Regions from separate parts of the Homo sapiens genome. Here all the other regions are linked to region 2. The links are contacts of gene promoters, found by promoter capture Hi-C in blood cells and fetal thymus (Javierre and others, 2016). All regions are on one chromosome and are shown on one strand. The core of a region is centred on a gene start or on the middle of the fragment in contact, and the rest is flanking DNA. Distances in the headings are between cores, read along the strand shown.

Region 1 (4,280 bases), core at 1,480-3,979, 520 kb before region 2:
ATTGAACTTACTGCACGAGACTTGTTTTGCCTTTGCAAACAGGGACCGATTTTCTCCCTCATATGTATCCTTATAACTGATTCAATATCTGATTTTCTTTTTTCTTTTTTTTTTTGAGACGGGGTCTTGCTTTGTCGCCCAGGCTGGAGTGCAGTGGCGGGATCTCGGCTCACTATAAGCTCCACCTCCCGGGTTCACGCCATTCTCCTGCTTCAGCCTCCCTAGTAGCTGGGACTACAGGCGCCCGCCACCACGCCCGGCTAATTTTTTTGTCAATATCTGATTTTCTTAGTACTGGGGCCATGTTCAGAATCTTTATTAAGACGAGTTCATAAAAATAAGAAAATTATTTTAACCGGATACATAATTCTGTCCCCCTAGATCATTAAAATATTCACCTTTTCCACTTGTCTAGTATTGAAAAACCAAGTCCCACCAGGTCACAGTCAAGTAGTGTCCAAGCAGGGGTAGGGGCCAGGGAGTCAGCTCACCCTTGCTCTCCTGCCTGCTCCTCAATCCCAGGGATGTTCAGGCCACATCCGCGGGGAATTCCCGGGGGCTCTAGCCACCTCATCTCAGAAGTGCAGTACACTGGAGTGTAGCAATGCCTGCAAGGTTTGCAAGCTCTCCTTACAGGTTTGTTTGGGGCAGGGGGAGTCTAGTGTCTTAAGTCACTAGAAGGTGTGTTTCGTTTTTTCCTTCAAATGTATTTTGTTTACTTATTTGAATTCAAAATCGCCCCTTCCCACAAGTGAAGGGATCCAAACTCTCGGGGAACCAGCAAGAACAGCCTGATGTGCATCCTACAAAATACTCCACTGCGCGGACGGGCTTTTGACTGACAGCCTCTTTACAGGGCGCACAGCTGTGTGGGGAGGACAGCGGAGCCCCTTCACTGTCTGCACTTACGGAAAAAAATGCGAGCGCGCGCGGCCGGGAGTTCCAGCCAGCGAGGGGCAGTGAGATAATGAATGTGAAAAGCCTCCAGGCGGGAGATTGTAATTCGCGCCGGATTCAGTTCACAGACGCGAAAGCCGCAGGATTGGGGTGGGGGCTTCATTTTCAAACAAGGAGACACATTTCCAGTTTAGGCTTTATAGCTAGAGACAGTGTGTGCAATCTTGGTTTTCAACAGTGTCTGTTTTTTTCGTTAAAGGTATCTGAATGTTGAAGTTCGTCGCGTAACAGGCCCCTACTACCTACCCCGCCTTGTCCGTCCCCCCACCCACCCCGGGGCAAGAGGGCTGCTGTGTCCAGACGATGGCGCTCCCGGCCAGTGCAACCCCTCTCCCCTACTGTGGCAAGAAGACTAGTCTGGAACAAGTTTCAAGGTGTTTACTGAGATTTTGAAAGGCTTCTCGACAGGAGCCGTAACTTTTAGTAGCCGGCAGAAATCCATTCCCGTGACCAAGGTTATTGAGGGAACGAGTGTCCGAATCACGCCCCTTTAGTTTTGCCCGAATATTCGAATTTTCCGTGGTCCCCGCGGAGCGAGATCCTGGGCGCACCGCAGGGGAACTGTGACGCACGGGGACAGAGATCCGCGGTGTGGAGGGCGAGGGGGGAGGCCTGAGAGGGATGGGGTCGAAACGAGAACCCCAGAAGGGCATGGGAAAGGAGAAAGACCGAGAGGAATCCTGACTGAGGCAGGGATCGCCGGTCAGCCAGAGGCTTCTTGGTTTAGCCGCGTGACACCTCCGCACCTTTCCCGCGGCTGCGGCGCAGCTCCTTCAGCCTTCCTGACTGCCCCGTGCCGCTCAGTAGAGAATGCCGAGCATCCCGAGAGGGAGAGGCGTCAGAGCCTCTCGTCCTGAGTTTCCTTGAGAAGCGGGGACCCAAGAGAAGAGCTTTATTGCCTGTTTTACTTTTTCCCAAAGCGTCCCTTGGCTTCCGCCGCCTGGCTGCCGGCAGCTGGAAAGGAGACGAGCTCCCGCTCCCGTTCGCCCCCAAACTGAGGACCGAGTGGCCACCAATGCCTTCCCTAGGTCCCAGGGTGCAGACCCGCTCCCCACTTCCAGAGTCGGGCGCAGGGTACATCTCTTTATGGAGAGTGCAAGACCTGGACCGGACTGAGCGGCTACTCGCAGCTGCCGCTAAGGGAGCCAAGAGGCTCCTGGCGAGAAAGGGAGCGGGGTTAAGTTCCCTAGGGATTAGGGACCCAGATTGGGGGTGGGAGCTCCCAGCAGTAGTCCCCTGTTCCCCGCGGGACACAGAAGGCTCTAGACAGGCAAGGGCATGGGGCGTGGGATGGACCTCACAAGGATACTTGCAGAGGCAAGCATCTAGCGTTCAAGGGGCCACCGGCTATCCCCTATACCCTGCTGGGGGCTGTGGACTGGCTTGGTCTAGCACTGGATCCTATGAAAGACTCTGTGCTCCGGCTCTGCAATCTACATCTCTTTGCCAGGTGTTTGCACTGGAGGAGAGAGGGAGAAGAACTTGCTAGAAACGAATGCACAGGGGCTGGTGGAGGGGGTGTGGGGTGGACTCCGAGCTAGTCATGATGCTTGCAAGGTACCTGGGAGATTGAGAGGCAGGGCAGGCTGGCTAGAGAGGAAGTACATACAAGGCAGTCGGAAGCAAGATGACACCTCAATGTGGATTTGTCCAATAAGAGGGGGTAGCCAAGGGGGGGGTATTCAGGGAGGTCTGATTGGTCGGGGGGAGGGATTTGGGGTGGGGCTAGCCGCCTCTTGAGGCTTTAAAAGCTCATCGGAGAGGGGCGGGATGCTGTCATTTGCTCTCTGACTCTCAGAGAGGGAGGCACGCTTTCCTGGAGCTCCTGGTGACAGAACAGGTGTTTGCTGTCTGGACCTGGCTGCTGATCCTGAGCCTGCTGGGAGATCTTAACGATCCCCAGGAGCAACATGGGGCCCACCCTAGCGGTTCCCACCCCCTATGGCTGTATTGGCTGTAAGCTACCCCAGCCAGAATACCCACCGGCTCTAATCATCTTTATGTTCTGCGCGATGGTTATCACCATCGTTGTAGACCTAATCGGCAACTCCATGGTCATTTTGGCTGTGACGAAGAACAAGAAGCTCCGGAATTCTGGTAAGCCACCCCTTCTTCTCCCTACCCAGTGTGCAGAGACTTGCAACCCCTAGGGCGTTAGTTTTTGAGCTCCCCGAATAGAGAATCTATGGACAGTGCCCTCATATTGAACATCCCTGCTCCCAAATTCCCCGCAAGCCTGGGGGTGGTAGTATTCTGTCCCGGCCCTCTAAACGTGGAGGTTCTCAAGGCCGAGAGAGCACAGAGAATTAGCTTTGGGCATCCAAGTACAAAGCGTTCCCGTGGTGCGCGGCAGCCCGAGGATCCCTGTCCCGTCGGGGCCTGATGCGGAGGGAGCCGGCACCCGAGCGGGAGAGTCAGGCGATTCGCCCGGGGACAGCAAGCCGAGCCGGACGCCGCAAGGGCGGCCGCGCTGAGGCAGCGCGGACCGAACTGACGCGGAGGGAGCAGCGGGGCTGCGACCTGCTCTGTGAAAGTTAAGTTCGCGGCGGCCGCGGCGGCCCTTACCAGAGCGCAACGCAGTGGCCTCTCCCTAGCCGGGCCAAGAGCCCGCTCGCCGCGGCCCTGGGGCTCCAGGACGGCTCCCGGGCAGATCCCGGGCGGCGGAGCACAGACCCCCGCGCCCGAGAATCGAGCAGGGAGGTCTGAGCCCGCCGGAGCCGAGCTCCGTCCGCCCGTCCCAGGGCGAACGGCAGAGAGAGGCAAGCGGCGGGTCGGGCACAGCAGGCGGTGGCAGCGACGGCGGCGGCAGCGGAGATCCCAAGGTCCGTAAGCGGGGAACTGGGGGGTCGCAGGGCGGGCCGGCCAAGAGGCTTGGGAGCTGGGCGTTGCTGGGGGTGGAGGGATAGAAGGCAGCAAAACCGAGTAGGGATTGGCGGGAGGGCGACGGGAGAGCTCAGAGGCGGCGATGGGGGACTCAGAGAGGCTGCAAAGGGCTGGGGTCTGGGAGCCGCAGGCGGGACTTCCCCCGCTGCTAGCCACTGCCGAGCGGGAGGAGGCCGGGGGCCGGGGGCCGGCGGCGAGCAGGGCAGGAGGGAAGCGTGGGAGGATGCCGGGCGCTGCGACCTGTGCTGGGGGTGGGGGCGGCAGACACTGCAGAGCAGCTAGTCCGGCTTACAGGTTGGGCGGGAGAGGGCTCTGGAAGGGAGGGGAAGGGGCAAAGGCGCCCAAACTCCGAGTTCAGGCCGGGGGAGGGAGGGGCGGCGCCTGGAATTTCCACCGCCAGATTCTCGATCGGCTGGGGCTAGGAGTGGGGACCGAAGGGG
Region 2 (4,242 bases), core at 749-3,248:
ACTGGGGTGCAGGAAGGATCCTGCAAGACCTCACAGTAGAGATGTCATGCGCACTGTGTGGGAAGAATGAATGCAAGTGCTCCAGGTCCACAGTGGGAGGAAAGGCATTCTGGGCAGTGGGAAGTAGAAGTAGCCTCATGTGGCTGGAGCCAGAAGCTAAAGTGGGAGTGCCAGAAGGAGGGCAGAAGCCATAGACCCTTGTGCACATACTGGAAGAGCTGCTTTTTTAACAGTCAAGTGCACAAGGGTCTATGCGGTGTTAAGATCACGATGGGAACATGCTGGTGGGCTAGGAAACTCAAGAGGTTAGTTCCAGAAGAGTCTGTGGAATTCTGCCCCACAGGCTCCGGAGGCATGGGGGGAAGGCCATAGAAGAGCTGTCGTGGGTAAGGAAGATTCCTGCAGCCGTGAAATAGCAAGCAAGCTAGGGAAGAACTCTAACAGGAGGCAGAAATGGAAGGGAAAGCACCATGCGGGGAGAGAAGTGTAGAGGCAGGCATCGGGGGAGCTAGGGGAGCCAGGCCCTGGGGGTTGGAGGGGAGGCGGCCGGTGGCAATGAAGGCCTTCGCCCACCCCTCTTCCGCCCCCTGGCAAGGCAGGTTGCTAATACCCGCCCTGGGATAGGGGTGGGAGTGGTTCTGGAACCGCCTTCTGAGACTCATTCCCATCAAAAGCAACACTTGGGGTGGAGGGAGGAAGAGGACGCCAACCCCAGTGCCTGGCCGGGTTCTAGATGTGCAGAGAACAAAAAGGAACCCTAAAAACCCAGCATCCCCTTCTCCGAGGGAGGCTTTCCTAGACCCAGAACCTCAGCCCACCCGGAACCCCTTTGCCCCTCTCTTAGCAGTGGACCTGTCATGTGGTTCCTCCTGGACTAGTGTAATCTCTGCTATGCGTCTTGTCCTGCCATGCTGAACTTCTCACAGTGCGGCCTCCGAAGGAGCCCCCATCTAGCGCTCCTTGCAGTCGCAGAAGATTCCTTCTCCCCTTACTGAGCCTTAGAGTTTTCCAAACCCATTTCCTCCTTCAAATCGCTGCAGCCTCGCGAGGGAGGCAGAATTCTCCCCATTTCTCGGACTTTGCAGGAGAGAAGCCTGCCTTCCCGGGGCAGGGTGGGGGTAGGTAAGTGAAGAAGCCAAGGTCACCCAGTCATTGGCGGAACGCGGCCTCGACTCGGTCCTTCTTCTGAGGGCCCTGTGGATCCCTGGCAAGGCAGGCCTAGGTTGCAGGCTAGCCCCCCTCTCTTTTCGTTGGCCCCAGGAGCCCGGCGGGCCTGAATGGCAGGTGAGCCCGGGGGGTGGGGACAGGACGCGGGTTGGGCTGCGCAGGGACGCCTGGCGCGCGGGCCTTGGGAGCGGCCGCCGGAGCTCCCTGCTACGCCGTATCTTCCGAGGGCCCACGCCTTGGGTCACGACTGGACCAGGGCTTTGACCAAGGGTCCTCTGTGTGCCCCAGGCCCGCCAGTCAGGCCCCGCCCCCCGGCGGCACGGGCGGGGGCAGGGGCGGCGCCGGCAGAGTGGGGCGCGGGCGCGCGGTGCTCGGTGCGCGCCGCCGCCCCTCCGGCCCGGCTTGCCCGCCCGCTCTCCCAACCCCCTCGGCCCACTCCGTCGCCCCCACCCCTCCTTCCTCCACTCGGCCAGGCGGCCGGCGGCCCGGTGCGCGGGGCAGCGCGACGATTGCGGCCTGGCGATCGGGGCACTGCGGTCGTGGCGCGCGAGGCGCGGGGCGCGAGGCCAGCCCTGGAACGGCGGGGTGTGGGGGGCGGGCAGCTGCGGAGCCCCCAGAGGAAAGCAGGGGCAGGCAGGGGGGTGCCGAGGTAATGGGCCGGGCCTGGGCGCCCGGCTGCGAGGGGCGGGGGTTCCAGGCGCACTTCGGCCCTGGAGGGGCGGGCGACAGGGTGCCCGGGGCGGTGGGAGGGCAGCGGGGAGGGGAGGAAGGGAGGGAGGAGACGGCTGGGCCGGACCGGGGGGCTTGGCCGACGGGGAGCAGGTGGGCGGGGACAGGGCCCCTGCTGGAAGAGGCGCAGCAGCGAGGTGGCGGGCTGCGTGCGCAAACAGGGCGGCCGCCTTCTGGGCCCGGAGAACGGTGAGGCCATTTGGGTTGGGTGTCCCAGTCCCGAGGGCACGGTTCGGTATCCAGGGCCAACGAGCTGGGTGCAGGGCATTGTTGAGGAGGGAAGATCTAGAGGCCTGTCCGGGCCAAGGGGATGGGGCGTATTGAACAGCTCCGGGAGAAGAGTGTTGCTGGGTCAGGGCGCTGGTGTCCAGCGAAGGTGGGCGAGGACAGGCACTTTCAGGGCTGGCCTGAGTGGAAAGGGACAAGGGGGCCCCAGAGTTTGAGTTTGAGCATAATTTGGGAGTTGTCGTGTCACTGGGTGGGTCGATGAGTCATGCGATTTGGAGAACCCTTTCCTGGCGATCAGTTCTGAGGGATGGAAATAAAGTCTAGGGTTTGGAGAAGTGGTTTGGAGGCCATGTCTTGGGACACCAGGTGCTCTGGTGGTCACCAGGCTTCATGTGAGGGACTTTGGGAGTTGTGTCCCAGAGGCCTGAGATTCAGAAGCTTCAGTCTGGGGTGGAGTTAAGCAAGGTCTTTGTGGTGGCCAGTTCCCTGCCTTCCTTCCTTTCCAGGCTGTCAGGATTCAGCTGTGTTCCTGCGGGGAGTGGGTTAAAAATTCCTTCCGCCTACAGTCAGCTTTACAGTATCCACCAGGGGCATGGGGGACATATACATGTGTGGCTGCAGCATCATTCTTTGTCGTGGAGCCCTCACGATTGCTTCCTTATTGTTGCCATAGTAACTGTCTACTGATGGTGTATTTATAGGGGAAGAAGCAGGCGCTACATTTTGGGGAGGGAGGGGGAAGAGGCCTCGTGGCAGGCAGCAGCAGCAGTGAAGGTGGCTACAGAATTGCTAATGGAGTGGGCCATGCCATGGGAACTGTTTTGGGGGTGTTCCTGGCTCGACTGAAGCTTAAAAATGAACTGGTGACTTTAGCAGGTGCGTCAGGATAACATGTATTCGGGTCTATGATAGGTGTGACATATAGCCACCTTTGACCAAGGCTAGGTGTGTGGGGGACAAAAGATGGATATATGTAATCTATTATGTAAATTTTTCTCCATTTTTTTAAAAAACCACTGCAGTTTCCTTTGATAAGCATATTTTTCTCTCTTCCCTTATTAAGACTATATGCATTCTTCTCAAACCCAGATACAACAGCTCCATTTTTCTTCAAGCAAAAAATCCTTGCCATGAGGCATACTATATCCACACCCTCACCACATAAAGCTCAGGTATCCATAATGCAAGCAGAATTTTGAGATCATATTCCATCTTGGTTCTGACAAACATTGAGGGCCAACTGTCTCACAAGGCAGGCCATCTGTTGACAAATTCACATGTTGATAGTTTTGAGGGAGATTGTTGCAGGGTTCAAAAGAGAAAGCCCCTTGATGTGGCGTTTCCACAAATAGATGTCAGATCTGCTGTTTTACCTTTAATTTTCTTTTCTTTCTTTTCTCTCTTTCTCTCTTTCTTTCTCTCTTTCTTTCTTTCTTCCTTCCTTCCTCCCTCCCCTTCCCTTCTCCTTCTTTCCTTCCTCCTTCCCTTCCCTTCTCCTTCCTTCCTTCCTTCCTCCCTCCCTCCCTTCCTTCCTCCCTCCCTCCCTCTCTCCCTCCCTCTCTCCCTCTCTCCCTCTCTTTCTCTCTTTCTCTCTTTCTTTCTTTCTGGCTTTGTAACCCAGGCTGGAGTGCAGTGGCGCAATCTCAGCTCACTTCAATCTCCGCCTCTCTGGTTCAAGCGATTCCCCTGTCTCAGCCTCCAGAGTAGCTGGGACTACAGGCATGCACCGCAGCATGCCTAACTAATTTTTGTATTTGTAGTAGAGATGGGGTTTCACCATTTTTTGGTCAAGCCAGTCCCAAACTCCTGACCTGAGGTGATCCGCCCGCCTCAGCCTCCCAAAGTGTTGGGATTATAGGCATGAGCCACCGCGACCAGCCTAAATTATTGATTTATATCCTACCTGTTTGCCAAAAGGATTAGGTGGCATATTATAAATGCACAATAGGACACTGGAAACATAAATAGAAAGCTGTATACCACATCGCAGGACAGAAGCATATGTGCTTAACAGCTGGGCTTCCAGGGTGCCTGTGCTTGACTGGCAATAGTGACGCTGAACTTCCTGGCAGCCTAGGCAAAAAGGAGGGCTCAATGGATTCCACAGTTCACGTGTCT
Region 3 (3,982 bases), core at 155-2,654, 560 kb before region 2:
TTATTCAGGTGCTGCAGCTGAGGAGATGGGAGGTCAGTCTCAAATTCATCTCCTCAATTGACTAAAATTAGAGGTTTATATAGCAGGGAAAAAAATGTAACTACATATGGGAAAACAGGAAGAAGGGGTTAAGGAAGAAGAGTTGGTAAACAGGAATCATGATGGATGAGGGGTCTGGCATCTCATTGTTTGGATGTAGTGATGTGGTGAATTTATATTCTTTGAACTATCTGGGAGGCCTGAGGGTTGGTTTCCTGAGGAGGGAACTCAGATAAGACAAATGCAGATTTCAAGCTTTAAGACCAAGAGGGTCAATTTCAAATTTCTATGTTTATCCAAAAGACGGTAAACACCAGTTCTGTGAGACAATTGGCCGGTTTCAGTCCTCTATTTCTACTTATCAGTTCCTCAATCATGGGGAATCTGGTGGTTGATCTTTCTGACTGCTTTATGCTGAGGAAGGGCATTATATGATACTGATGAGGAATGAAAATGTTACCCCTGTAATTGGAAGTATTCATAAGTACCTGGTCAGCATCTGACTTGTTGGAACACCAGGACCTGGATACTTTAATGGTTTTAGAACAACATTTTAAGTCACATTGACTAGGATGATTAATAACATGGATAACCTAAATTTTAAAACACCAAAGGATATGGAGTGGATCCCTTGGGGAATCCAATAAAATAATCGCGAAAGCTACATGTTCCCTTTATGATTTTTTAACTAGGGTCTTTCACTGGACTTTAGATATTAAGGCCATCTGAGGGTTCACAAGACCATGACTGATTCCCTGGGAGAGATTCCAGAGGGACTGGTTTTACCCGAGTATAGTGAATCCACGACTTAGCACCAGCTAACTTGACAGATGAGTGAGTGATCAGCAGCACCTCCAAAGGGCTGACCCATTGTGGTTGCAGCTCATCTACAGCTTGGTGGGATTTCCAGGTCTTCAGCAGGACTTGGGATCTCCCAGTTTCAAAAAGTGGAGAGGTACATCTCTAGGGAACTGAAGCCTGTTGGAAGCAAACTTAGAGACTAGTTAATATATTTCCTAATTGTTTTATATATGACCTAGCTTCTGTGTCAGAGGAGGAAAAATACTAAAGTGTCAAGGAGTCTGGAGGTTAGAGAAATGGTCTTCCATACATTTTGGAGGCTCTAAAAGCCAATCCACTTTTAGGGGCTACCCACATCCTCAGCAGGGCAAGGGACAAGACCTTTTCCCAGTTAAGATTTATCTCTTGGCAACTGGGGTCCCCTTGGCCACAAGTGGGCCTACTCAGTCAATGGGGGGCTTAGGAATTTATTTTGTCCCATAGTGTTGCCAAGGTGGTGTGGCTACATGTTTTAGGTCCATCTCATCCCTCAGTGGGACCTCTATAGCCAAGGGACATAGAGTCAAAAGACTAACAGCCAATTAAACACTGTAGACCAGACAAGAATGGAGGGGGGCAGGCACTCATTAACACTTAAAACCCTTTAAGCAACATAATAGCCAAAAACTAAAAGCCAAAAAGTAAGGTTACAGAATTGCTTATGAATCAAAGGAATTTCCTTTGCCATTTAAGAATGGAAGCCCAGTTCCCTGCACCCCTGCCCGCCAAGCTGAGTTGTATGTTCAGCATCGGCCTAGAACAGTGAGATCTTTTGAAGGTTACATAAGGACACATACAACCACCACAAAAGAACATACATAACTAATTTTATTTGTCAAAATTGGCCCTTACAATCTCATGTGCCTGCCCCCCTTCTGCAATAGTTCCTGGGCCTAGATGGATTGGATAGTTTTAATTCCTGGCCCTGTGTCTCATGAAAGCAGTTCATTTTGATTGCTGCCTTCTCCTGGGTCTAAAGATGAGGCTTTGACTGGTGTCAATGTTCAAGATTTAGCAGGTATCGGCACCTTTTTCAGACCCAGGAGTCAAGACCCTGTAACTTAACAGCACAAGGATTAGTTAATAGGATGCTTATCAAAGAAATTAAAAGACTTGAAACGTTTTATTAAAACAGAATCACAGGTCATTGTAAAATAACAGTTATTCATTTAACCAAAAGTGATCATCAAAAGGCTTTAAAAGCAATATAGAAATAAAATTACAATAAAGGGGCACTCTACCCATAATATGCAGACAGACTACTTTGCTGTAAAATAAGTTTCTATCTACAATATAAATGATCGAGTATAATATATGCATTTATGCTAAAAACAGAAGCCAATGTTTAATGAAACATTTAAAGACATAAAAAAAGAACATTTAGAAATTAGTGCTTCAGTTTACTAATACTGCAGAAAGTCCTATTATTCTCTCTAACATGTCACAAATTAAAACACTGTGATTTGGTCTCCAGTAGTTACTGCCTGCAGCACTTCAAACCACTGCCCCAGAAATACACTGACTACAGAGGAGGAGACAGCCCCTGCAGGAGTTAAAGATGCCAAGGACAGAATAACTGTGCTAGAATGTGCTAATGCCACAGGCACACATAACTGTCAGCTTACTGTGGTAGGCAAAAGCTTGCATTTTTGTTGTTTTCAAGGAGTGAATTTCTTTTAAGTCCATTATTATGCTAACAATAAGGCATGGATCGCTAGCGATGCCTTTTCTGATTGGTTTCACAATTTGTACCAGCAGCTTGTGCTCACTTCAGGGAAGCTGGACTGGGTGACCATTGCAAGATTTAGTTATTCCTTGACAATTGTTTTGCTCGTTCCTCAGCTGAAATTCTCATTAAAAATAATGTTTATACCATGTATTTCCCCCAAATGTGACTCTATTAACTCAGCCATGTGACTGGGGTATCCTTAACTCACTGAAGAGTAAATATTTAAAAAAAAAACTTTATCGAACAGCATGCTAGTAGCAATGAAGAAAGGTATGGGTGTGGAAGGTTTTTAAAAGGAGTTGGGCATAAATGATACCATATATACTGTTACTAATGCTTGGAAAACAGTGACTAAGGACACAGCCGTGCATGCCTGGCACAACCTCTGGCCTGTGATTATGCTCAGTAATGATGAACAATCCAGTTTTTCATTCATTAACCAGTGGTGGAAGAGTCAACATGATCCTGAATAAAGGTGATATGATCATAGCAATGATGAAGATGACATTATTAACACTGCAGAAAAAGTGCCTTTAGATGATATGGTGAAAATGTATGATGGGCTTATTGGAGGACTAGAGCAGTATGCATTCATAACAAATAAGAAATAAGAAATCATGTCAGTTTATAAAATCAAGAAGAGAAAAACTGTTGTTAATGAGACAAATTACTCTGGAGGAAACACTTTAAAAAGTCATCTAGCAGAATGCCTCCTCATCCCTAAAGGGCCTACTTCCTGGTTTCTCCACTGCTTGTGGTATTTCTTCTCACCTAAAAAATAAAATACAGTGTACAGTACCCATTTTAATGGAAACACAGCATCATACGTGGAGATTGAAAATGTGGTATTGTATGTTGTTGCTGTTGTTGAACAGCTGACACAGGAATTCTGGTGGTGCTACTGTGCTGCTTAGTTACTTGAACACATTATGTTTTCACTGTATGAATGATATGTCATATTTTTTACTGTTAAGTACTTGTGTGTAAACAAGTGTAAGAAAGTGATTGCTTATTCGTAGCATATAAATTCAGAGTTAGGAATAATGGATGCCAAACAACCACAGATTATCCACATGGATGGCTGAGATAGTGACACCTTTGCTTTCTGATGGTTCTATATACACAAACCTTGTTTCATGCACAAGATTATTAAAAACATTATATTGGCCGGGCACAAGTGGCTCATGCCTGTAATCCCAGCACTTTGGGAGGCCAAGGTGGGTGGATCACTTGAGGTCAGGAGTTTGAGACCAGCCTGGCCAACATGGCAAAACCCCGTCTCTACTAAAAATACAAAAATTAGCCATGTGTGGTGGTTTATGTCTGTAATCCCAGCTACTTGGGAGGCTGAGGCAGCATCACTTGAACCTGGGA

Evidence for each region. Contacts are between HindIII fragments. The CHiCAGO score rates a contact against its expected background, and 5 or more counts as called.
Region 1: the fragment with the promoter of GPR50 here is called in contact with the fragment with the promoter of PRRG3 in region 2 in 7 of 17 cell types (M1 macrophages, M2 macrophages, naive CD8 T cells and 4 more); the score reaches 7.9 in M1 macrophages.
Region 3: a contact is called between a fragment that was not itself captured here and the fragment with the promoter of PRRG3 in region 2, in 3 of 17 cell types (M0 macrophages, M1 macrophages and M2 macrophages). The highest score is 7.4, in M0 macrophages.

The regions. Positions count from the first base shown.
Region 1 is chrX:151,173,855-151,178,134 of GRCh38, forward strand. GPR50 (G protein-coupled receptor 50) reads left to right here and starts at 2,730. Exons shown (of 2, transcript NM_004224.3): 1 at 2,730-3,054. The coding sequence starts at 2,868. GPR50-AS1 (GPR50 antisense RNA 1) reads right to left here and starts at 3,982. Exons shown (of 3, transcript NR_135300.1): 1 at 3,523-3,982; 2 at 2,941-3,021; 3 at 1,344-2,416. RefSeq lists enhancers at 425-1,394, 1,395-2,363. The HindIII fragment of the contact is 16,411 bases long and covers 1-4,280 here.
Region 2 is chrX:151,693,460-151,697,701 of GRCh38, forward strand. PRRG3 (proline rich and Gla domain 3) reads left to right here and starts at 1,999. Exons shown (of 4, transcript NM_001372163.1): 1 at 1,999-2,085. The HindIII fragment of the contact is 4,373 bases long and covers 1-2,560 here.
Region 3 is chrX:151,129,729-151,133,710 of GRCh38, forward strand. No RefSeq gene overlaps it. Among named protein-coding and RNA genes, the nearest start is that of MIR4330, 37 kb to the right of the region's middle. The HindIII fragment of the contact is 2,225 bases long and covers 293-2,517 here.